7 separate regions of the Homo sapiens genome follow, and regions 2, 3, 4, 5, 6 and 7 are each linked to region 1. The links are contacts of gene promoters, found by promoter capture Hi-C in blood cells and fetal thymus (Javierre and others, 2016). All regions are on one chromosome and are shown on one strand. Each heading gives the region's core, a stretch centred on a gene start or on the middle of the fragment in contact. The rest is flanking DNA. Distances are from core to core; before and after follow the strand shown.

Region 1 (2,893 bases), core at 370-2,869:
TTTTTTAAGTTAACTCTTTAACTCATCTGGAATTATTTTGATGAATGGTGTGAGGCATAAATGGAACCAAGCTTTTCCCAAACAACCAATTTTCCATTATAGTTATTAGTTAATATTTCCTTTCTCCAATTAATTTGTAATTCTTCTTTTTACCACATGAGAAGGCTTTACATCTATGAGAGTCCATTGTCTGGGCCATTTACTTTATTTCACTGGTCTGCCACTTCTTGAACCAACATACCACAATATTTATATTGACACTTTATCTTTTCATATCTGATATGAAAATCATTTTTTTCTAAAACATCTTAGTTATTTTTATTAGTTTATTCATACGGATGAAAAAGTTTAGGATTTTGACACATTTTACCAGATCTCATGGAATTTTCTTTGGTACTGCACTTGTTCAGTTCCCCAATCCTCAATCATGGTAGAGCTGTAGTTTTCCTTATATGGGTCCTGCTCAAATTGTTAGAAATTCTTATTTCTAAGAAATGTATTATGACTATCATAAGGCGATTTTCCCATCACCACCCCTGCTCAGGTTACTACCAATTATTGTTGGAATAACAGAAAGTGTTTTTTTCCCTATTCATCATACACATAGCTACTTGCTGCGATTATGGATTCTGAGAACGTCTTAGGTGACTATTTGGGTTTTCCACGTGGGCCATCATATCTGCAAATAGTAGTATTTCTGCCTTTTTTTTTTTTTTTTTTTTTTTTTGGTATTTCCACTTCTTGCTTCATGTTTTACTGCATTGGCCAGGGCTGGTAGAAAGATGTTCAGTGGTCACGTGAGGTTTTACTACTGACTTTATTAGGAATGCTTCTGGTGTTTCTCATCTGAGTTCCGTTGTCGCTTAGACTTTGAAATCCCTTTTTAAAAATCGTGTTCAGAAAGCACATCTCATGGAAATGACAAATATGAGAACTAAAACCGACAAATTTCTGCCCAAAATCCCACATGCAGAGCCTCCTGGCCTGGAGCCTCCTGAGGCGTCGGTTCTTTGATGACTTCCCATTTCTTTTCCCTTTTTTTTTTTTTTTTTGACGGAGTCTGGCTCTGTCGCCAGTCTGGAGTGCAGTGGTGCGATCTCGGCTCACTGCAACCTCCGCCTCCCAGCTTCCAGTGATTCTCCTGCCTCAGCCTCCCGAGTAGCTGGGATTACAGGCGCCTGCCACCATGCCCGGCTAATTTTTGTATTTTCAGTAAAGACGAGGTTTCACCATGTTGGCCAGGCTGGTCTCGAACTCCCGAACTCAGGTGATCCGCGCGCCTCGGCCTCCCAAAGTGCTGGGATGACAGGCGTGAGCCACCGCGCCAGCTGATGACTTCCCATTTCTTCCTTGGTTCTTTCGGAGCCACTTTGGGAAATTCGGTTCTATCTGCAGTGGTAAAATACAGGTCGGCTCTCCACGCGCGCGGCCAATGGACGCTCCCAGCGCGGACAGACAGGCCCTTTGCTGGAGCTGGGCAGGGCGAAAGGACCCCAGGGCGGGGCTTCAGTCGAGGCCGGCCCCGCCCACCGCTGCAGCCGCGCATGCGCCATGTACAGGCTGCTTTGGGCCCTCCCGCGTGCCGTTCTTACCCGGCCTGCCCCGCGCCGCCGCTTCCGGAAGTGGGTCTCGTCTCCTCCCAAGCGGAGCATTTGTGCCTGAAGCTGCCGGGTCTGCTACGGCACCGCGGGGCTGCAGAAACCCGGGGGCCAAGGGCGGGCTGCTTGCCGCTATGGCTGGCAGTCAGGACATATTCGATGCCATCGTGATGGCGGATGAGAGGTGGGTGGTGAGGCCGGGCCCGCACCCCGCCCTGTCTGGTCGTCTCCCAGCGGCTTCGCCGCCGGCTGCGGCCCAGGGCGGCTGCTGGAGCCTGGCGTCCCTTGGGCGTGCGCATTGGGGAGCGCCTGGTGGCCGTGGACGCAGGGACAAGTGTGGGCCTGATGCTCTGGTCCTCTTCTCCTGGCCCGCTCCGGCGGGGCACGTGCCCAGCTGCTCTTCCAGACCCGCCTTCCCTGTCAGGGCTGCCCCAAACATCTGCTCAGCCTGGTGGTTCCCCTCCTCCGAGGCCGCCTCGTCCTCTGGGAGGACAGACCTTTGCCATCTGGGAGCTGCCTTTTTTTCTGGTTCCTTAATCATAGGACATACGGCAGTATTCATGGATGTGCTGATAGATGTACCCGACCACACCCCTTTTCCCTCCAGAGCCCCTGGGGAGCCCCTCGTGCTGCGACAGTGGGGGAGCTGTGAGTTGCCTCCTGGCTGACTTCCAGTGCCCGGCCCAGAGGACGCGTCCATAGATGTTAGTTAAGAAAGCGGCCGAACATTTAGCAGTCAGGCGCTGACGTTTATTTAGCTCGCGCTGTGAGTCAGACACTGAGCTAAACGTTCCACCCTGGTTATCTACTTCAGCCCTACTTAGTAAGTGGATCCTATTATTCTTCGGAATTTACAGACTAGGAGGCACAGTCACTTTCCAGGGTCACACAACTATTAAGTGGGGAGCTATGCACCCTGCTTCATGGGGCGCTGCAGCCCACTCCTTGCATGTTTGGTGACTGCAGGTTAAGATAGTGGCAGTTCCACTGTTGGGCCTCAGGGTCAGTGCTACTCCGGGTACCAGTCGGAGAACATTTTGTGGTGATCTGATGCCATTTCTCTCTGTTGCCCTACCCATGTGATGTCAAACCCTGTGTATGTTGCAGTTTTTTGGAAGCGGTTGACTTGGGCTAGTGCTACTTGAACACTCACAGAACTTTGGCCCCCTAACTCTGGCTGCAAACCAGACTTATCTAGGAGACTTTGAAAAGTAGATTCCGGGCCAGATGCGGTGGCTGACGCCTGTAATCCCAGCACTTTGGGAGGCCGAGGCGGGCGGATCACGAGGTCAGGA
Region 2 (3,116 bases), core at 491-2,990, 440 kb after region 1:
GGATGGGCCCATGCAAATGAAGGGCCTGGAGCTTCAGCGTCATTATCTTCATTGACACCCTGGTGGTGCCTCCTACAAATGCCCAGAGGCTCAGCCCCCAAAGACTCCTCCAGTTTTCCCTTCCCACAGCCTGGCCACCAGATGAGGTCAGAGAGGCAGGCACATGCCTGACACCCAAGGCTGGGCTGAATGTTCTGCTGGAAAGAGAACAGAGGGTGAACAGAGGACAGGCATCCAGGTGAGGGTTGTGGCCATGCCCACAGGCCCCTGAATTTTGAAGAAAATCATTCACAGCCCTAATTTAGGCCTTCAAAACCTGCAATTCCAGACATTCCCATGCGGAGGTGCTCAGTCCAATGGTTGAGGACATAGAGACCTCATTGCAATGCAAGTGTTTCTCCTGGGTCTTTAAGAGAATCTGAGTCGGGCAGGGGCAACCCCACTCCCAGCAGCCTTTGCTAAGCACCAGGGAGGGTATTTATACCAGCTGTGGGAATTGGTAAACGCCCCAATTTTATGGATGTGGGAGAAGCTGCCCATCCCTAAGCTCCCTAACTCAGCCCCCTGCCCTGCCCCCACCACACACACACACTGATCCCACAAATTCTGCCACCACTGGGAAAAGCCAAATGTCTGGGCCAAACTGAGGTTGAACTTTACTCCCAAGGAAAGACTATTGCCCTGGAAGGATGAGAACGGGGCTGAGGAGATCACCACAAGGGGGCAGAGGGCTCAGCTTTGCTTAGACACAAACTTGCCCTGTACTTCTGGAAAGTTCTCTACTACCCCAAGCCTTGATTTCTTCATCTGTAAAATGAGTGTGCAAGAAGACAACATCTCTGGATTGTGCCCAGATCCATGGAGCTACGACAAAGCCAGTCTTAACAAAAACACAGCCAGGATCACCTGTGTCAGCAACCAGCAGGTGCATGCTCCCCCAGCCTTGGACTCAGGCCACTCCTTTGGGCTGAGATTCCAAAACTCTGCCCCTGGTTTACCTCATCCTTATTCGGCACCCAAAACTTGGTCTGTTCTCGCCATACCACTTGCTGTGCCCCGGGCAGGTTATGGGCTAGCTTGATTCCAGAGGCCTGTTCACTGTTTCCACCCACGGGAAATGCTCTAAGCCTCACCCCCCATCCCCCTGGGCTTGCACACAGGCCCCTTTCTCTAGGAGGCCTTTCTTTGCAACCGTGCCCAAAGAGATCCTGACCCTCAGTTTCCTCTGCTGTAAAATGGGGACATTTGGAAGAACTGGGCTTATGTCATCTCATGCCATCCTACATCGAAGAGGTGACAAGATATTTACCATATTTTGTTTTCCTTTTTTTTTTTTTCTTTTTTTTTTTTTTGAGAAGGAGTCCTACTCTGTCACCAGGCTGGAGTGCAGTGGCGCGATCTCGGCTCACTGCAACCTCCACCTCCCGGGCTCAACCGATTCTCCTGCCTCAGCCTCCCGAGTAGCTGGGATTACAGACACACGTCACCACGCCCAGCTAATTTTTGTATTTTTAGTAGAGACAGGGTTTTACCATGTTGGCCAGGATGGTCTCGATCTCCTGACCTCGTGATCCGCCTGCCTCGGGCCTCCCAAAGTGCTGGGATTACAGGCGTAAGCCACTGCGCCTGGCCTGTTTTCCTCTTTTAACAATAGGTACAAGCTGCCAAATGATCCCAGAGCCCACCTGCCTCCTATAGCAGCACATGAAAGGAGCTTTGTCAATGTCAGTCGGGCCTGCCTCTGAACCCTGTTTCTGACCAGCAGTCTTCCTTGTCCCCACTGTCGCAGTGTCCCAGGATGGGGCTGACACACCTCTCATGCCTGAGCCTCGGTGTTGTCATGACCATGTCATCTCTACCACTTAGTGCTGGGCCATCGGGGACAGGGCTTGCCTTTGCACATCCACAGTGCCTCTCAGGGGTTCACTTCGCTGGTGGGGAGATTCTTGAGGATTAAAATGCTCCGTTCCCCCAGTGTTTGATTGGAAAACCCAACAGAGGTGTTCGTCCCCTCCTGATTTCTCTGGACAGATGAAAAATGTGGGTGGTTTCCAGGGGTAACCTAAGCCGGCAGAGGGTGGGCAGGAGGGGTGGGCAAGGAGCGGATCAAGTGACCTATGAAAGGGGACCCTCGCCATCCACCCACCTCCAGACTGGCTGGGGAGGTTTTCTGTGGGATGGGAGAAGAGTCCAGATGTGGCCAAAAGGACTTACTGCCTTTGATATTCTATGCCCTGCTCATGCTCAGTTTCCCCTTTTGCCCTATTTCAGCCTTACACCAGGCAGAAGGCTGTGAGTGTTTTCTCTTAAAAAAAAAATAATCATCACAAACCTCTTTCGATTATGCTCATTCTGTTACCATTGAAGATGTGGGAAGAGGTGTACAAGGCTTTTCTTTTTTTTGCTTTTTTTAACAATAGGTACAAGCTGTCAACTCATTCTAGGGAAACCCCACCTCCTACAGTTTCTGGAAAAGACACTTTAATGTCAAAAGGGAAAATGAGCCTTCTGATGTGGTTGCTTAAATAGCCCCTGACCAATCTAATTTGAATACAAAATGGCCTATATCAATTCATTTATTTTTGCAAAGAAGGAAGAACTCTTCCCAGGAAGCTGGAGGTCTCCATCTCAACCCACAGGGTCAGTTCAGAATCATCCTCCTTCCCCACAGCTGCAGCTGTGATGGGAAAAGGAAGGCTGGCCAGGAGCCAGAGAGTCGTGCTTCAACCTCTGGTGGCCGTGGGAGTGGACTCAAGTACTTCACCTCCCCTCGTGGAAGCTCAATACCCTCATCTATAAAATGGAAGCATCCCTGCTGACTGCAGAGGACGGATTTGCAATGATGACACATCCTCTAGAGAGACATATCCTCTGAAGTCCTGAAAAAATGTGACACAGAACATATTGTGGCAATTTTGACTTAGAGGAAAGTTTAAGTCACCATCAAAATTCTGCATGGATGTTGTCAGGCTGAATAAAAGATCAACACCCAGCTATGTGCTGTATACAAGAAATCCACTTTAAATACACATATACACATAGGTTAAAGTAAAAGGACGGAAAAAGATATAAAGAGGGATGTTTCATAATGCTAAAGTCACTTAACCAAGATATAA
Region 3 (3,001 bases), core at 433-2,932, 380 kb after region 1:
AGTTCTTCCTGGCAGATCCTCTCCAAAGAGCCCCGTCTGAGAGCAGATGGAAGGAGGTGGTGTCAGGAGATACCTTATCTTACTTTTGTCTGCTGTCAGCATTCCAACAACCCTAGATTATTTTGGCACCCCGCAGTGTCACTCAGTCTCACCATAGCCTCACTCTAATTATCAAAGCTCATCTTTTGGGCTGATATCTGCTTCTGGGACTCCCAGTAGCCCACCTGGGTCCTGCTGGGGAGGACTGTAGAAATCTGACTGCCCCAGGTTGATTTTCTCCCTCTGTCTTCAACATTCAGATTGCCAGCCCACCTGTTAAATCATGATGAGTTGGTGATGGTGATGGTGATGGTGATGATAGTGATGATGGTGATAATGATGGCGTTGATGATGGTGATGATAATGGTGATGATGGTGGTGATGGTGATGGTGATGATGGTAAGGATGATAATGGTGATGATGATGGTGGTGATGATGGTGATGACGGTGATGGTGATGATGGTGGTGATAATGATGGTGATGACGGTGATGGTGATGAAAGTGGTGATGATGGTGGTGATGATGGTGAGGATGATAATGGTGATGATGGTGGTGGTGGTGATAGTGATGATGATGATGGTGAACATGGTGAGGATGATAATGGTGATGATGGTGGTGGTGATGATGGTGATGATGGTGGTTATGATGATGGTGATCATGATGGTGAAGATGATAATGATGATGATGGTGGTGGTAATGATGGTGATGATGGTGGTCTGATGATAATGTTGGTGATGATGGTGATGATGGTGGTGATGATGATGGTGATGGTGATGATGGTGGTGATAATGATGGTGATGGTGATGGTGATGATGGTGATGATGGTAATGATGATGATGGTGATGATGGTAATGGTGATGACGGTAATGATGATGATGCTGGTGATGATGATGATGATGGTGGTGATGATGATAATGGTGAGGATAACTTGTACTGAACATGCACCACATGTCAGTAGTTTTCCCACACTATTTCATTTAATCCTCATGACAACTTTATGGCTAGGACTACTGTTATCCCCATTTTACAGAGGAGGAAACTAAAGTGTACAGTGGCTCAGTCACATAGCAAGTTAGCAGTGGAACCTAGGGGCACCCAGGCAGTTGCACCAAGACCTGCTCCTAACATTACCCTATACTGCTTTTGGCTCAGCCTACAGAGCTGTCTTTGTGACCCCTTCTCTGACACTCCTCCTCTGAGCCAAAGGGCAGCTCCTCCCATCATCCATATCAGTCTGACTGCTCTTTCGCAGTAAGACACAATGAGGAAGCCAAAGACTCTAAAGGGAGGGGCACAGGGATGCCAGTTTCCCTCAGAGCACTGCCAAGGAGGGACCACAGCTCCAATGGCGTGGGCATATGATGTTCCACCTGCCACAACTCCATGCCCAACTCTCCTGCTCTGAGGGATCAGGCTTGGCCCTGACCCTTCTGCCTGTGAGCAACTGGTGAGCAGCCAGCCCAGGTTGCAGCCACCAGCATGTGGGCACTGGTCAGCACAAGGCATGTCTCCTGTCCAGTACTCAGGGCCTCGCTGGCCACAGTTGGACTCTGAAAGATTCCTGATGTGGACTCAGATGTGTTTGAGCCTAAAAACATGCTTTTCATTGGTCCCACCCTACTTCAAACAAAACAGAAGCCTGGGTTGTTCTAAAAAACCATGCACAGCTGCATCATCTATTGCCCAGGCCCCAAGGGTCAGGTTCTACCAAAATTTCTACCTGCATGATCCCATTTAACCTTCCAGCTGCCCTGCCAGTGGCCCTCACTCCATTTTACAGATGAGTAAACTGAGGCCCAGAACAGTCATGCTGCCTCTTCAAGGCCATAAGCCGTTGGAGATCAGAGCCAGGATTCTGAACCAAGGCTATGTGAAGCCAGTGGCCCTCTCCATGCCCCACCCCAGCCCAATATGGTGCGATCTTCTTGGGAAAAGTAAGAACTGATGCTGAATTAATTTTTAAAATTGTGGGAGGCAGAATTCTATGATGGTCCCCAGACCCACACCTCTGGTATACATGCCCTACATAGTCCCTGCCCCTGTGAATATGATGAACACTCTATGATAGGATTGTGTTTGATGGCACTGTTGACTTGTTCATTTTGAGAAAGGGACACTAACCTAATGGGCCTGACCTCATCACATGAGCCTTTTACAAGTAGGGTGTTTTCTCCATCTGGTCCTCAAAGTGGAAGTCGGGAATTGGACGATGAGAACCACTGCTGATTTGGAAAATGAAGGGGACCACATGGCAAGGAATGTGGGCAGCCAAGGGAGCTGAGAGTGGCCCCAGCCAACAGTCAGCAGGAAACAGGGACGTCAATCCTACAGCTGCACCTGCAAGCAACTGCATTCGGCCAACAACCCGGATAAGCGTGGATGCAGACTCCTCCCCAGATCCCCCAGAAGGAGCCCAGTCTGCCTGACACCCTGATTTTCACCACGTGAGACCACGAGCAGAAGACCCACAAAGCAGTGCCTGGATGTCTGACCTGCAGCACTTTGAACTTGCAACTGGGGTTGTGGTAAGCTATTGAGTTGGTGGCGATTTGTTATGCCGATAGATAACTAATACGGGTATGCCTGCAGGTGGTCTCCGGGGGATCTTTGAAGGTCATGGCCAGTGGGGCCTTTCCTCAGGAGGTTCCTGAGGCTTGGGTTCCTCCTGGGATGGGGGCAGGGGAGCCGGTTGCCTCTCCACCCAGACCTGCTTGGGTGCTGCAGAATTAGCAGGTGCCACAGTGAGAGCATGAGCTGTGGAGAGCAAGAGGGAGGCCTTGGTTCAAATCACTGCCTTGCACCACCTCTCTGGGCCTCCCGTTCCCCAACAGTAAAGCAAGATGGATGCCAGCAAGTTGTGAGTGAGAGAGTGAACTAAGTGATTCATTAAAAAGTGCGTAGCTCAGTGCCTGGCACAGAGTACGTGTTTAAGAAGCCCTGGGTGGTGATCAGATGCTGATCT
Region 4 (3,061 bases), core at 21-2,520, 370 kb after region 1:
TGGGTACGCTGACTCACAGGCTTGCCACAAGGCATGGGGAGGTAGTGGGCAGGAGGCCCCAGTGGGAGGCCTAGCCAATGGCAGGGAGCAGCCACAGTCTTGTCCCAAAGCTAGGAGCCCGAGGAGCCTTTGTCCCAGAGACAATGAAAGGTGGGGGCTGTAGCATCAATAGAGACACCTGTCGGTACTACAGCCACAGTCAGCGGAAGGGAGCACTCGGCGTGGCCAAGAGCGAGACTGGGACCTCTGTGCCCACCCTGCCCAAAGGCAGCAAAGAACCCCCCGGCTCAGGACTCCCCTCCACCCCCATCCATGCCTAGGCTCTGGAGCAGGTGGCCTGGCTTTGCCCCCCTCGCTGTGTGGCCTCAAGCAAGTGACCGAACTGTTCTGAGCTTCCACCTCCACGTCTGCAGACTGGGACTAATCTGGGTTACTGGGAGGACTGGCAAGTTAATACATCACCCAGGGTCTACTGGATCACACAGTAGGCACTCACTGAATGTTGGCATAATGTCCAGGACTGTTATTCATTCCTTCCCAAGCTCTGTGCCACCCCTGAATGGTCCTGGAGCTGACAGAGACAGAACAGCCCCTGGCACTTGCATCCAGGCCAAGTCAGGACCTGGTTTCTGCACCCCTACGGCCCAGACACCCATGTCTCGAGACCCAGTTCTAACGTACCGTCCTCTTGGAGCCTTTCCGCAGGCTTCCTTTCCACATTATACTCATGCCGGGGGCCCACGGGGCTCAGATCCCTGGAGTGCAGGGACAATGGACTTATCTTTGTGGCCCCAGTGCCGTCCTCCTAGTCTTTTCCCACATGCTGTGGGAAGACACAAGGAGATTGGGAGAGGCCGAACTGAGAGCTGGAACGAGACTTAGAAGCACTCACACCAGTGTGCAAAGGGCCCACATTGGCTGGACAGAGACCACCTGCTCGTACCGTGCAGAGCCAAAGGCAGAGAGGAACATAGGGACGGCAGTGGAGATATGGAGAAGGAGACGGATTTGAGAGTCGTGGAAGGAGGTTACAATGATGGAATGAAGCAGAAGAATCTAAGAGCCTGATTCAAGAGATACAAGGGACAGGAATCCCCAGAAGGACGTGTGACACCCATGTGTGAGGCTTGGCCCCATTCCATGAGATGGGGACAGCCCATGGAGGACCAGGATAGGGGCAGGGAGGCCATCCCGTTTGGTTTAGGCCATGTTTGGCTGGGAGCATTTCAGGTGAGAGTCACTGCTCCTCCTCTCTTCATGGGATCACACAGAGAGCCACAAGCAGAGCTGGGAGAAGGATCTGGTCTCCCTTTCCCCCTCATGTGAGTCTAAGACTGTTTCCAGCCCTCCCTGTGGTTTTCCAAGAGGACACTGAGTGGACCGAGTCCAAAGAGGAATGTTCCCTTGAAAACACGCATCCTCTCAGCTGTTTTCCTCTAGAATCATCAGCAAGAGCCCAAAATCCATACATTGTTTTCTGGTGAAAAATAATAGCAATCCTGTCCTGGTTGCCAAGTCTGTGAAATCATGAGCAGCAGACAGGGGACCTCTGGAGCATTCCCAGCGAGCCAGGTGCCAGCAGCCCCCTGTGGCCCTGAGGGCAGGTGCTGCGGGCGGGAGGGTCCGTTAGGGGCCAGCTGGGCCTGGAGTGGAGGCCATAGCCCTCTCTCCTCCAGACACCTGCTTCTGGAGGGACCTTGCCCCCTCCATGCTGAAGTCACTATGTGAATACTAGGACCCCCAGAATTTTTCTCTGGCCAAGATCTCCCCTGAGCCCGGAGCTGCTAACCCAGCAGCTCAAGGCTTCTGCCTCACCCGTGGGAGTCTCTTAAGCAGCTCAACCTCAGTGTGCCCCAAAAGGAACCCACCTCTTTGCCTTCCTTTCTCCAGGTCCCTCTCCTGCTTCCAGTTGCCCCAGCTGCAAACCTGGGAACACATTGAGACCCAGGTCACTGAGCTGCATGTAGTCTCCCTCCTTGAGCTCTCACATCTGCCTCACGCCTCCCACCCCACACTAGCCTCTGCCCAGATAGCTGCCACCACCCCTGACTCACCCGGCAATCTGCCCTCCTTCTATCAGAAAAGGGGTCTTTCAAACAGGATCCGGACAATGCCACCTCCTGCTCCAGTGCACTTCAGGCCACTCCCAGTGGCCCATCAGAACCCCCCACTCACCCCCTCCGCCTGCTTCAGGCCCTGCCTGGGGGCCCCACAGCCACCCACCCCCACGGGACCTCCAATCAGGCCCAAGGCACTCATCACCAAATCTGCCCCAACCTGCATGTCGGCCATGTTTGCAAGAGCTGTTCCCACTCTCAGAATGGTCTTCCCACTCCCCGACCCCAGGGGAAGCTGAGTTGCACCCCCGTCATAGCCCAGGAACCTCTTCCCTGGGATGCATCCCCATCCCCTCCTCCCAGGGCATCCCTGGAGCAGCCCGTATCCCAGGTGCTGCCTGGCGGGCTCCACTTCCCGTGCTAGGTGGCACACTGTGCACCTAAGGCAGTGGGAGCCTTTGGAAAGCTGGGACTTACAGTCACATCTAGCTGGGTTCAGACCCGCAGGAGCAAGAGCCAGGCAACCTCAAGCAGGCCTCGTGGCTGCAGCTTCTGCACATATACAATGTAGGAGACCGCATGACCCAGCCCACAGGGCTACTCCCGCCTTCACCCTACATGGCTTGTTGGCATTCCTATGACGTGCCAGGCATGGTTGTAGGAGTGGTGTGAGAGCAGGGAATGCACAGCCCAAATCCCTGCCACCCAGAAGCTGGCCTGCTCACGGACAGAGGCCCAGCATGTCAGATGGTGCCAAGTGCTCCAAAATATTGGGAGAGGCAACTATAAATAGGGGGCCAGGGAAGGCTCATTGTGCAGGCCTTCATTTGAGCAAAGACTTGAAGAAGAGGAGGAAGCAAATCACATGGGTGTCTGGGAAAGAGCGTCACAGGCAGAGGGCCCAGCCAGGGCAAAGGCCTGGGGTATCAGCTGCCCCAAAAGTATGAGCAGCTGCAGGGATGCCATAGCGGCTGGAGTGGAGGAACAGGGTCGGGAGAGGCAAG
Region 5 (2,966 bases), core at 349-2,848, 450 kb after region 1:
TAGCAAGACTGATAACGAAAAAAAGGAGGAGAAGATGCAAATTGCCAACATGAAGAATGAAACCGGGAATATCATTACAGACCCTGCAGACATCAAAAAGATAAAATAGAATACTATGAGCCACTCTACACACATAAATTTGACAACTTAGATAAATCAACTTCTTAACCACAACTCACCCAATATGAAATAGATAATTTGCATAGCCTTATAACTATTAAGGAAATTAAAGACATCATTTCAGAAATCTCCAAGCCTGGATGATTTTACTGGACAATTGTACCAATTCTTTGCAGAATAATTAACATGAATTCAAAAGCCATACATATGAGAAAGGAGAAATAAAATAGATAACATGATTATCGCTGTGGAAAATCCCAATGAATCTACATAAACAATACCTCCCAGAAACTAATAAGTTAGTTCAGCAAGGTGACAGACAAGATAAATATACAAAACTGATTGTATTTCTATGTATTAGTAGTAAACATGTGAACATAAAAATTAAAAATACAATGCTATTGAAATCACTCAAAAATTAAATAACTAGATGTAAATTTTTTTGATATACAGAACTTGCATGCTGAAAACTACACAACCACTATGAAAGACATCAAAGAAAATCTAAATAAATGAAGAGACATACCATGTTCATAGATTAGAAGACCCAACATAGTAAAGATGACAATCCTCCCTAAATCAGTGTTTAGGTATGGTTGATATACAGCAATTCCTGTCAAAGTTTCAGTAAGATTTTTTTGTAGATATACACAAGATTATTCTAAAATGTATATAGAAAAGAAAAGGTTTTAGAATAGCTAAAACAATTTTGAAAAATAAGAATAAAGTGAGAGCATTTAGTCTACTTGATTTTAAGCTTAATATATAGGCTTATATAATCAAATAATAATACAATAATCAAAAGTTCATGGTATTGGCAGACAAATAAACATACAGAACAATGGAACAGTACAGAGAACCCAGAAATAGATTCACAAGAATACACCCCACTAATTTTTAACAAAGGTATAAAATCAATTCGATGGAGAAAAATAGCATTTATAGAAAATGGTGCTGAAGCAACTGGATATCCATTTGCAATAAAATGAACTCCAACCTAAATTTCACACCTTTTACAAAAAGTAACTCATAATGAATTATGTACATGTGAAACTATAATACTTTTAGAAAAAAACAGAGGAAAAAATCTTCAGCATCTAGAAGTAGACAAAGAGTCCTTAGACTTGACTCTCAGAGCCGATCCATAAAAGGAAAACTTGATAAACTGGACTTAATCCAAATAAAAATTCTGCTCTGCCAAAGACCCTGCTAAGAGGATGGAAAGACAAGGTATAGACTGGGAGAAAATATTTGCAATCCACAAATCCTACAAAAGAGAAGTATCCAGGCTATAGAAAGAACCCTTAAAACTCAACAGTGAAAGAGCAAACAACCCAATTAGAACATGAGCAGAAGATATAAAGAGACATTTCCCTGAAGAAGATACCTAGATGCAAATATGTACATAAAAAGATGTTCGACATCATTAACCATTAGGCAACTACACATTCAAACTACAATGAGGTATCACTAGACACCTATCAGAATGGCTAAAATAAAAAATAATGGTATCAAGTGCTGGTGAGGATGTGAAGAAACTGGGTCACTCCTACATTGCTGGTGAGACTGTAAAATGGTACAGCCACTCTGAAAAAGTTTGGCAGTTTCATATAGCAAGAACCATGTGACCCAACAATTGAATTCCTGGGCAGTTACTCCTAAATAAATGAAGACTTATGTTCACACAAAAACTTGGACATAAATGTTTATAGCTGCCTTATTGTAATAGCAAGAAACTGGAGAGCAATCCAAATGTTCTTAACAAGTGAGTTATTAAACAAACTAAGATTACTTGGCAATAAAAGGAAGAACCTATTGACAGACACAACAACCTGGATGAATCTCCAAAGAATTATGCTGAGGGAAAAAACAAATTTATTAATCCACTTATATAACATTGTTGGAATGACAAATTTATGGAGATGGAGAACAGATTAGTGGTTGCCAAAGGTTAAGGAGGGTGGGGGACACGAGGAGAGTAGGTGTGTGTATAAAAATGCAACATGAGGAATCCTCGAGGTGATGGAAACGTTCAGTTAGTTCACTGGATCAATGTCAGTAGCCTGGTTGCGAGGTTGTACTATAGTTTTGAAAGACGTTACCATTGGGGGGAGACTGATGAAAGAGTACACGGGATATCTTTGTATTATTTCTCACAACTGCATGTGAATTGACAATTATCTCAAAATAAAAAGCTTAATTTTTTTAAAAAGCCAAAAAGTTTAAGAAATCAAAAAGAGAAAAGCTGTCAAAAGACACTCCGTCTAAAGACAGAGTGAAAAAGCAAGTCACAGAGTGAAAGAAGATATTCATGATACATAGATCCAACCAAAGACTTGTCATCAGAGTATACAAACAGTTGCTAAAGATGAGTTAGAAAAAGACAGACAAAACCGAATGTGTTGTTGCTGTTTTGTTGTTGTTGTTGTTGTTGTTTGAGATGGAGTTTCACTCTTGTCGTCCAGGCTGGAGTGCAATGGCGCCATCTCGGCTCACTGCAACCTCCGCCTCCCTGGTTCAAGTGGTTCTTCTGCCTCAGCCTCCCAAGTAGCTGGGATTACAGGCATGTGCCACTACGCCTGGCTAATTTTTGTATTTTTAGTAGAAACGGGTTTTCTCCATGTTGGTCAGGCTGGTCTCAAACTCCCGACCTCAGGTGATCCACCTGCCTTGGCCTCCCAAAGTGCTGGGATTACAGGCATGAGCCACCGCACCCAGCCCCAAATGTTTTTAAAGTGAGGGAAAGGCTTGAACAGGCAGTTCACAAAAGATGTTTAGATAGCCACTGGGAATATGAGAAGGTGCTCAATATCGTTAGTCATCAGGGAAATGCAGTTAAAACCATA
Region 6 (3,067 bases), core at 211-2,710, 410 kb after region 1:
AGCCAGCCCAGTCTCTTCATGGTGGGGGCTGTGGGGACGGGTGTCGGGGGTGGGGGCAGTGACAGACTTGAGGTCACACAGCTGGTCAGGGAGGAAGCCAGGGCTTACCCAGGCCAGGAGTGCCCTGGTCTGGGCCCTGCCCTCAAGTTCGGGGCACCTAATGAATTTCTTCTGCTTCCTTGTAACTCCAGAAGAGCAACTGAGGTCTAGAGGATGACATCATCAGAGTCATATCAGCTACACGGAGACACAGCCCAGAGCAGGAAAAGGGTACTGGACTACTGCTTTCAGAACCTAGAGTGGGAAATGATTCTCCATCATGGCCCTGGATGTTGAGTTGTCATTGTCTGTTTACACATCTGTCTTCCCACCAGACTCTGAGCAGGATGTAGCAGGTGCTCAGTGAGTGTGGATGGATGGGTGAGTGGATGGATGGATGGATGGATGGATGGATGGATGGATGGATGGATGGATGGATAGATGGACAGATGAATGGACAGACAGATGGATGGAAGGATGGATGGATGGATGGATGGATGGATGGATGGGTGGGTGGATGGTTGGATGGATGGATGGATGGATGGATGGATGGATGGATGGATGGATGGATAGATGGACGGATGGATGGATGGATGGATGGATGGATGGATGGATGGACAGATGGATGGATGGACAGACACGGTGGGTGGATGGACAGATGGGTGGACAGATGAATGGATGGACAGATGGATGGACGGACGGATGGATGGATGGATGGATGCACGGATGGACAGACAGGTGGACAGACGAATGGACAGATAGATAGATGGAAGGATGGATGGGTGGAAGGATGGGTGGGTGGATGGATGGATGGATGGACAGATGAGTGGACAGATGAATGGATGGACAGATGGATGGATGGATGGACAGACAGAAGGATGGATGGGTGGATGGATGGATGGATGGATGGATGGACAGACGGATGAATGGGTGGATGGATGGATGGATGGAGGGATGGATTGATGGATGGATCAATGGATAGACAGAGGGATGGATGGATGGATGGATGGATGGATGGATCATCCATCTGCTAAACTGCCAAAGTGTTTTCCAATGTGGCTGTACCATTTTGCCTTCCCACCAACAGTGTACAAGGGTTCTGGTTTCTCCACATCCTCACCAATACTTGTTATTTACTTGTGTTGACAGTGAAGAGAGAGGTGTTCTTCTCACTCGCATCTCAGGCCAGGTGAGGGGGTCCTCAGAAGCATCTCTGAGGGTCTGCAGGAGATTTTAGAGTTTTGGAGGATGCAGAGCCTGGTGCTGACCCCTGCCTGCACTGCCTAAATGAGGGGTGGCCAGAGCTGCCCTCGGGGTGGCCATCTTCAGGCATGGAGGGGAAAGTGAGTCATGGTGGACAGCCATGAAAAGAAGCCATGAGTGGGTCATCTTGAAAGGACATTTCCTATGAGGGTGAGAGACCACCAGGAGCCACCTGAGGCCCTCCCTAGAGAGGAGCCCAGGATGGGAGCAGTCACAGGCCCTTAGCTGAAGGCACCTGGCCAGGGCCAGAGACTCATGCTAGGGGTTCCCAATGGGGAAAGGCCCAAAGCCAGACATCAAAGGCACACGCCAGAGGAGAAACTCCAAGCCTCATGGGGGAAGAAGGAAAAAGGAAGAATGCAGCAGAAACCACAGCCCAGGCCCTCCCCATGACAGCTGCCCACCCTAGCAGGAGCCGTGGAGTGGGGAAGAGGGTGTACATGGGATAAGAGACTGAAGCTCTGGCCGGGCGCTGTGGCTCATGCCTGTAATCCCAGCACTTTGGGAGGTTAAGGCAGGTGGATCACGAGGTCAGGAGTTCAAGACCAGACTGGCCAAGATGGTGAAACCCCATCTCTACTAAAAATACAAAAAATTAGCTGGGCATGGTGGCACGTGCCTGTAATCCCAGCTACTCCAGAGGCTGAGGCAGAGAATTGCTTAAACCTGGAGGGGCAGAGGTTGCAGTGAGCCGAGATCGTGCCACTGCACTCCAGCCTGGGCGACAGTGCGTGACTACGTCTCAAAAAAAAAAAAAAAAAAAAAAAAAGACTGAAGCTCTGACTTAGACTGGACTGGACTTTCCATTTACTGAGCATGAGACTGTTTGTTAATCCATGAAGGTGTTGAGGAGAGCCACGAATCTGCCCCACCAACCACGTGGGCAGGATAGAGGCCCAGCATTGAAGGCCTGGAAAAAAAAAGAAAAGTGATCTCATGGATTTCCACCCCGAAGATCAGAGGTAGAAATCTCCACCCTGAGATCATTGGAAAAATTGCCACTGCCCCGTCTTCTGGTGGGATTGGGGCCACCCAGTATCTAGAACACATTTGGTGTGAGGAGTGGACCATGATACAGAGTCAGGACCCATCCTGGAGGCCCAGCCCTCCAGGCACAGGCAGAAGCAGACCCGAAGATCCCATCCTCCCAGGTTCCAGGCTGCCCTCTCATTTAACATTGCAGCTGGGTCCCAGAGACCATGCTGGTGGCGAGATGTGAATGTGATCCCTGTGTTTGTGAATAATCCCTCAAGGTCAGCCAGAAACCAGAGAACAATCTCCTCCTTTGTAGGGGGTGCAGGAGATGGGGCAGGAGACTGGCCTGTAGACATAATCAGCAAAAGTGGAGGGGTCCAGGAATGCCAGCCGCATCCTCAAATACCCCTCATACCTCTTCAAGTTGCCCCAGCCAATGCTGTTGTCATTTGGTACTTTAAGTCTTAAAAGAGACACAGGAGTTCTAGACAGGCTACCAGTTTCTGTAAGAAGGTAGTGGAGTTGAGGAGGCAGGGGAGCAATCACCCCTAATGCCATCATCAATCTGGCAAGTTCCAGATGATTCCTGATACCCTAAGTGTAGTATAACAGCAAGTGTGAGCTAGAAGGGAATCTAGGAGAATATCTTACTTAGAGCTGAGTACAACTCCAGAAATTTCTGTGACTCTGGCTTGAAAACTGGTGTGGCCACTGCCCCCCTAGAGTAAGTGCTTTCTAGATACTTGGTTGTCATGTGTGATTGATTTTGCTCTGCTTTCCCCAGCCCTGC
Region 7 (3,265 bases), core at 532-3,031, 490 kb after region 1:
ATAAAAGGAGGGGGCCTTTCTTTTCCCTGCCATTTATAAATTTATCGACTCATTCTTGGTCAGGGTGGACTCACTGATCATGCTTTGATCATTGATTTATCTTCATTACTGACACTAGTCATTGTCACGCTCAAATTCCCAGCCTTGGCTGGCAAGGGCCCTCCTGGACCCCCTGACTCATTCCTAGATGGGAGGTCTTCATGTCACCCGGAAAATGGGCTTCAGGGAGTACACGAGCTGCTTGAAGTTATACCCAAAAGATGTTTTGTGAGAGGATGAAAGTTCAATTGCTTTCATCAGATTCAAAAGGGGACTGGGGCCTTCCCATAAAGACAAAGAAACGCTGGATCACAGATATGGGTGAACCTGTCAGCTATCCCAGCCACCTCCAAGTCACACCTGAGACCCCAGCGTTAGACACCATGGAAGTGCTGGCGTCACAGCAGGCTTTCCTTCGGCAGCCTGGTGTGATGCTGACAAGGCTGTATAGGAGGTGCCTTGGCCAGACCGGGGCTGAGGGGGCTGGGTGGGTGTGGAGAAATGGGGCATTTGACTGTCCTCATCCGTTTTGGAGCAGCTGGGACGTCTCTCACTAGGGGTCTCAAAAGGCCCCTTGGTTCTGAAACTTCCACAAGGTAACCCTTCTTTTGTTTTTTGTTTTTTGAGACGGAATCTCACTCTATCGCCCAGGCTGAAGTGCAGTAGTGTGATCTCGGCTCACTGCAACCTCCACTTACCGGATTGAAGCGATTCTCCTCCCTCAGCCTCCTGAGTAGCTAGGATTACAGGCGCTGGCCACCACACCCAGCTAATTTTTGTATTTTTAGTAGAGACAGGGTTTCACCATGTTGGCCAGGATGGTCTCGATCTCTTAACCTTGTGATCTGCCCACCTCGGCCTCCCAAAGTGCTGAGACTACAGGTGTGAGCCACCGTGCCCAGCCAGTAAGCCCTGCTTTACCTGTGTGATTTCTCCTTGCTTCTCTTGTACTTTGAGGCCAGATGCCCCGACTCTGCCTGGGTACTAATGTCCTGAGAACTTCACCAACAAAAACACACTTTCCTTAGGGACACTGTGGCACCCATGATTTGCAGGAATCCCTTGGGGCAGGCACTCTGCTTCGGGCTGTCCATCTCGCTCAATTCTCAGCATGAGCTTAGGTACAGACTCATTGCCCCTCGTTTTACACACAGGGAAACTGTGGCTCAGACAAGCTTCGCCCAGGCTCCCACAGCTTGGAAGTGACCAGACCAGGCCTTGAACCCAAATCCACCATTTCCAGCATCCATAGACCCAATCCTCTCTCCACCAACAAGCACACTTCAATCAGGGCAGAGTTCAGCTCAGGGCAGAGTTCAGCTCGAAGCCATTGGAAAGCCCCAGATGGCAACATGGCGCCTATCCTATAGGCTGCCCCTTATCCATACTCTTTGCCACATGACTTTACAGTTTCCCCACAGGCATGGCTTGGCCATGGGACTCATCTTGAACCAGGTGAGTTTGCTGATAGGGGCAAATAAGGTTGGAAAGAGGGTTTTGTGGCCGGGTGTGGTGGCTCATGCCTGTAATCCCAGCACTTTGGGAGGCCGAGGCCAGTGGATCACTTGAGGTCAGGAGCTCGAGACCAGCCTGGCCAACATGGGGGGAAACGCTGACTCTACTAAAAATACAAAAATTAGCCAGGCATGGTGGTGGGTGCCTGTAATCCCAGTTACTCAGGAGGCTGAGGCAGATGGATTGCTTAAATTCAGGAGGCAGAGGTTGCAGTAAGCCAAGATTGCCCCTCTGTACTCCAGCCTGGGTGACAGAGAAAGACTCCATCTCAAAAAAAAACAAAAAAGAAAAAAAAGAAAGAGGGTTTGGGACTGGGCTTGCTCCCCTGCACTTCAACCAGTGCTGTGAGAAGATCACACCCAGGGAGCCTGCTGGTCTCAGGAAGAGGGGACACATGGACCATGCCGTGGCCCAGAGCCAAACCCAACCAAGCCCAGCCTAGATCAGCCAAACCCCAACCAACCCACAGACCTGTCCCTTGGAGCTGAGCCACTTCAGCCAAACAGACCCACACAGGACATAAATTCTGATTGCTGCATGCCTCTGAGCTTGAGAATGGTGTGTTATGCAGCGTTATTGCGGCCACAGTGAGAACAAGCCTCTTCATCTCCCCCTCATTTTTAAAACCGGCTCAGTGACAACACTGGAAATAGATCCCCCGGCCTTCCCTCCAGCCTTGTGTGCATTCATGCTGCTGGTCATGAGACTCGGTGCCCCTCTGTGTGGAGTTGGGGTGGGGAGTTCTGGGAAAGGTGCTAGGTGAAAACTGCACCAGCAAGAGAAAGACAAGCTTCCTTCTTGAGTCCCGTGTGGATCTGCTCCAGAGCCTGTGGTTGGGCTTTCACAGTGGCTGTTAGAGGAAGGAAAAGGGGAAGGAGCACAGCCAGGGAGGGCACAGATAAGGGGCCCTTATGAATGCATCCCCTTTGAAAGAAGTAGCCTCTGAACCAAGACCTAGAGTGTGATGGCCTTGTGAACGGCTAGTGTGTACGGCTGCAGCCACGGGGTCTCGCCCGAGCTAGAGGATTCTCGGTTGTTGATCTGATTCTCCCATTTGAGGCCTGGCAGGGAAAGTGCAGACCAATTATGCGGGCGCACTGAGAAGAGAACAGGACAGACATCCCTGGGGTCTTTTCCACCTCTCCTGCTATCCAAGGGAGAGACACTTCCCACAGGTCCAGACACGGAGGGAAGGAAACCAGAAGGGTAGCACCAGGTAGGCCCATCTCCACACACTGCGGCCGCCTGGACCTCGGAAAGCCACCTTGATGCCTTCACTTACACCCTGGAGGTGATGCTGGCCACGGTGATGATAAGGATTAGACAAGTTGGTCTGTAGGGCACTCAATATGTTAGCATTCTCTTCTGTGGTCGGTCTCCAGGAGAGAGGACGGTCCTCACAGAATCAGTATCCAAGGACACTAAGTGCAAGTGAGTTGTCGGGATGGGCTCTCTCTGAGGTGCCACGTGCCCTGCAAGTGCCCACGCCTGCCTTCAGAGCATGCACAGTGAGGGGGATGCTGATGGGCTCAGAACTGCAGCCACATCTGGGTCCGGTTGCCCTCACGGCAGAGACACTAGGGACTGAGGCTGCTCTTTGACCTCCTTGGCTTCAGTGTCTCCACCTTTCAGGGGTGCTTTGGAGGAAAGCCTCACACCAGGCTGTCATGAGGCCATGCGTGAACAAAGAGACCACACGGGCCAGCTCCTG

The links. Contacts are between HindIII fragments. The CHiCAGO score rates a contact against its expected background, and 5 or more counts as called.
Region 2: a contact is called between a fragment that was not itself captured here and the fragment with the promoter of LTO1 in region 1, in 2 of 17 cell types (M1 macrophages and endothelial precursors). The highest score is 5.1, in M1 macrophages.
Region 3: a contact is called between a fragment that was not itself captured here and the fragment with the promoter of LTO1 in region 1, in 11 of 17 cell types (neutrophils, endothelial precursors, monocytes and 8 more). The highest score is 9.5, in neutrophils.
Region 4: a fragment that was not itself captured here is called in contact with the fragment with the promoter of LTO1 in region 1 in 3 of 17 cell types (neutrophils, endothelial precursors and naive CD4 T cells); the score reaches 6.3 in neutrophils.
Region 5: a contact is called between a fragment that was not itself captured here and the fragment with the promoter of LTO1 in region 1, in 3 of 17 cell types (endothelial precursors, M0 macrophages and M1 macrophages). The highest score is 8.8, in endothelial precursors.
Region 6: a fragment that was not itself captured here is called in contact with the fragment with the promoter of LTO1 in region 1 in 2 of 17 cell types (M1 macrophages and endothelial precursors); the score reaches 5.2 in M1 macrophages.
Region 7: a fragment that was not itself captured here is called in contact with the fragment with the promoter of LTO1 in region 1 in 1 of 17 cell types (megakaryocytes); the score reaches 5.9 in megakaryocytes.

What each region holds. Positions count from the first base shown.
Region 1 is chr11:69,674,079-69,676,971 of GRCh38, reverse strand. It overlaps LTO1 (LTO1 maturation factor of ABCE1), which reads left to right and starts at 1,619. Exons shown (of 5, transcript NM_153451.3): 1 at 1,619-1,782. The coding sequence starts at 1,733. RefSeq lists enhancers at 1,258-1,457, 1,327-1,827 and a silencer at 1,948-2,037. The HindIII fragment of the contact is 5,284 bases long and covers 74-2,893 here.
Region 2 is chr11:69,238,490-69,241,605 of GRCh38, reverse strand. No RefSeq gene overlaps it. Among named protein-coding and RNA genes, the nearest start is that of MYEOV, 54 kb to the left of the region's middle. The HindIII fragment of the contact is 8,114 bases long and covers 1-3,116 here.
Region 3 is chr11:69,289,382-69,292,382 of GRCh38, reverse strand. No RefSeq gene overlaps it. Among named protein-coding and RNA genes, the nearest start is that of MYEOV, 3.3 kb to the left of the region's middle. The HindIII fragment of the contact is 3,965 bases long and covers 1-3,001 here.
Region 4 is chr11:69,308,273-69,311,333 of GRCh38, reverse strand. No RefSeq gene overlaps it. Among named protein-coding and RNA genes, the nearest start is that of MYEOV, 16 kb to the right of the region's middle. RefSeq lists enhancers at 1-115, 1-456. The HindIII fragment of the contact is 4,555 bases long and covers 1-3,061 here.
Region 5 is chr11:69,222,182-69,225,147 of GRCh38, reverse strand. No RefSeq gene overlaps it. Among named protein-coding and RNA genes, the nearest start is that of SMIM38, 68 kb to the right of the region's middle. The HindIII fragment of the contact is 1,438 bases long and covers 880-2,317 here.
Region 6 is chr11:69,260,774-69,263,840 of GRCh38, reverse strand. No RefSeq gene overlaps it. Among named protein-coding and RNA genes, the nearest start is that of MYEOV, 32 kb to the left of the region's middle. The HindIII fragment of the contact is 9,090 bases long and covers 1-3,067 here.
Region 7 is chr11:69,179,609-69,182,873 of GRCh38, reverse strand. No RefSeq gene overlaps it. Among named protein-coding and RNA genes, the nearest start is that of SMIM38, 25 kb to the right of the region's middle. The HindIII fragment of the contact is 1,130 bases long and covers 1,217-2,346 here.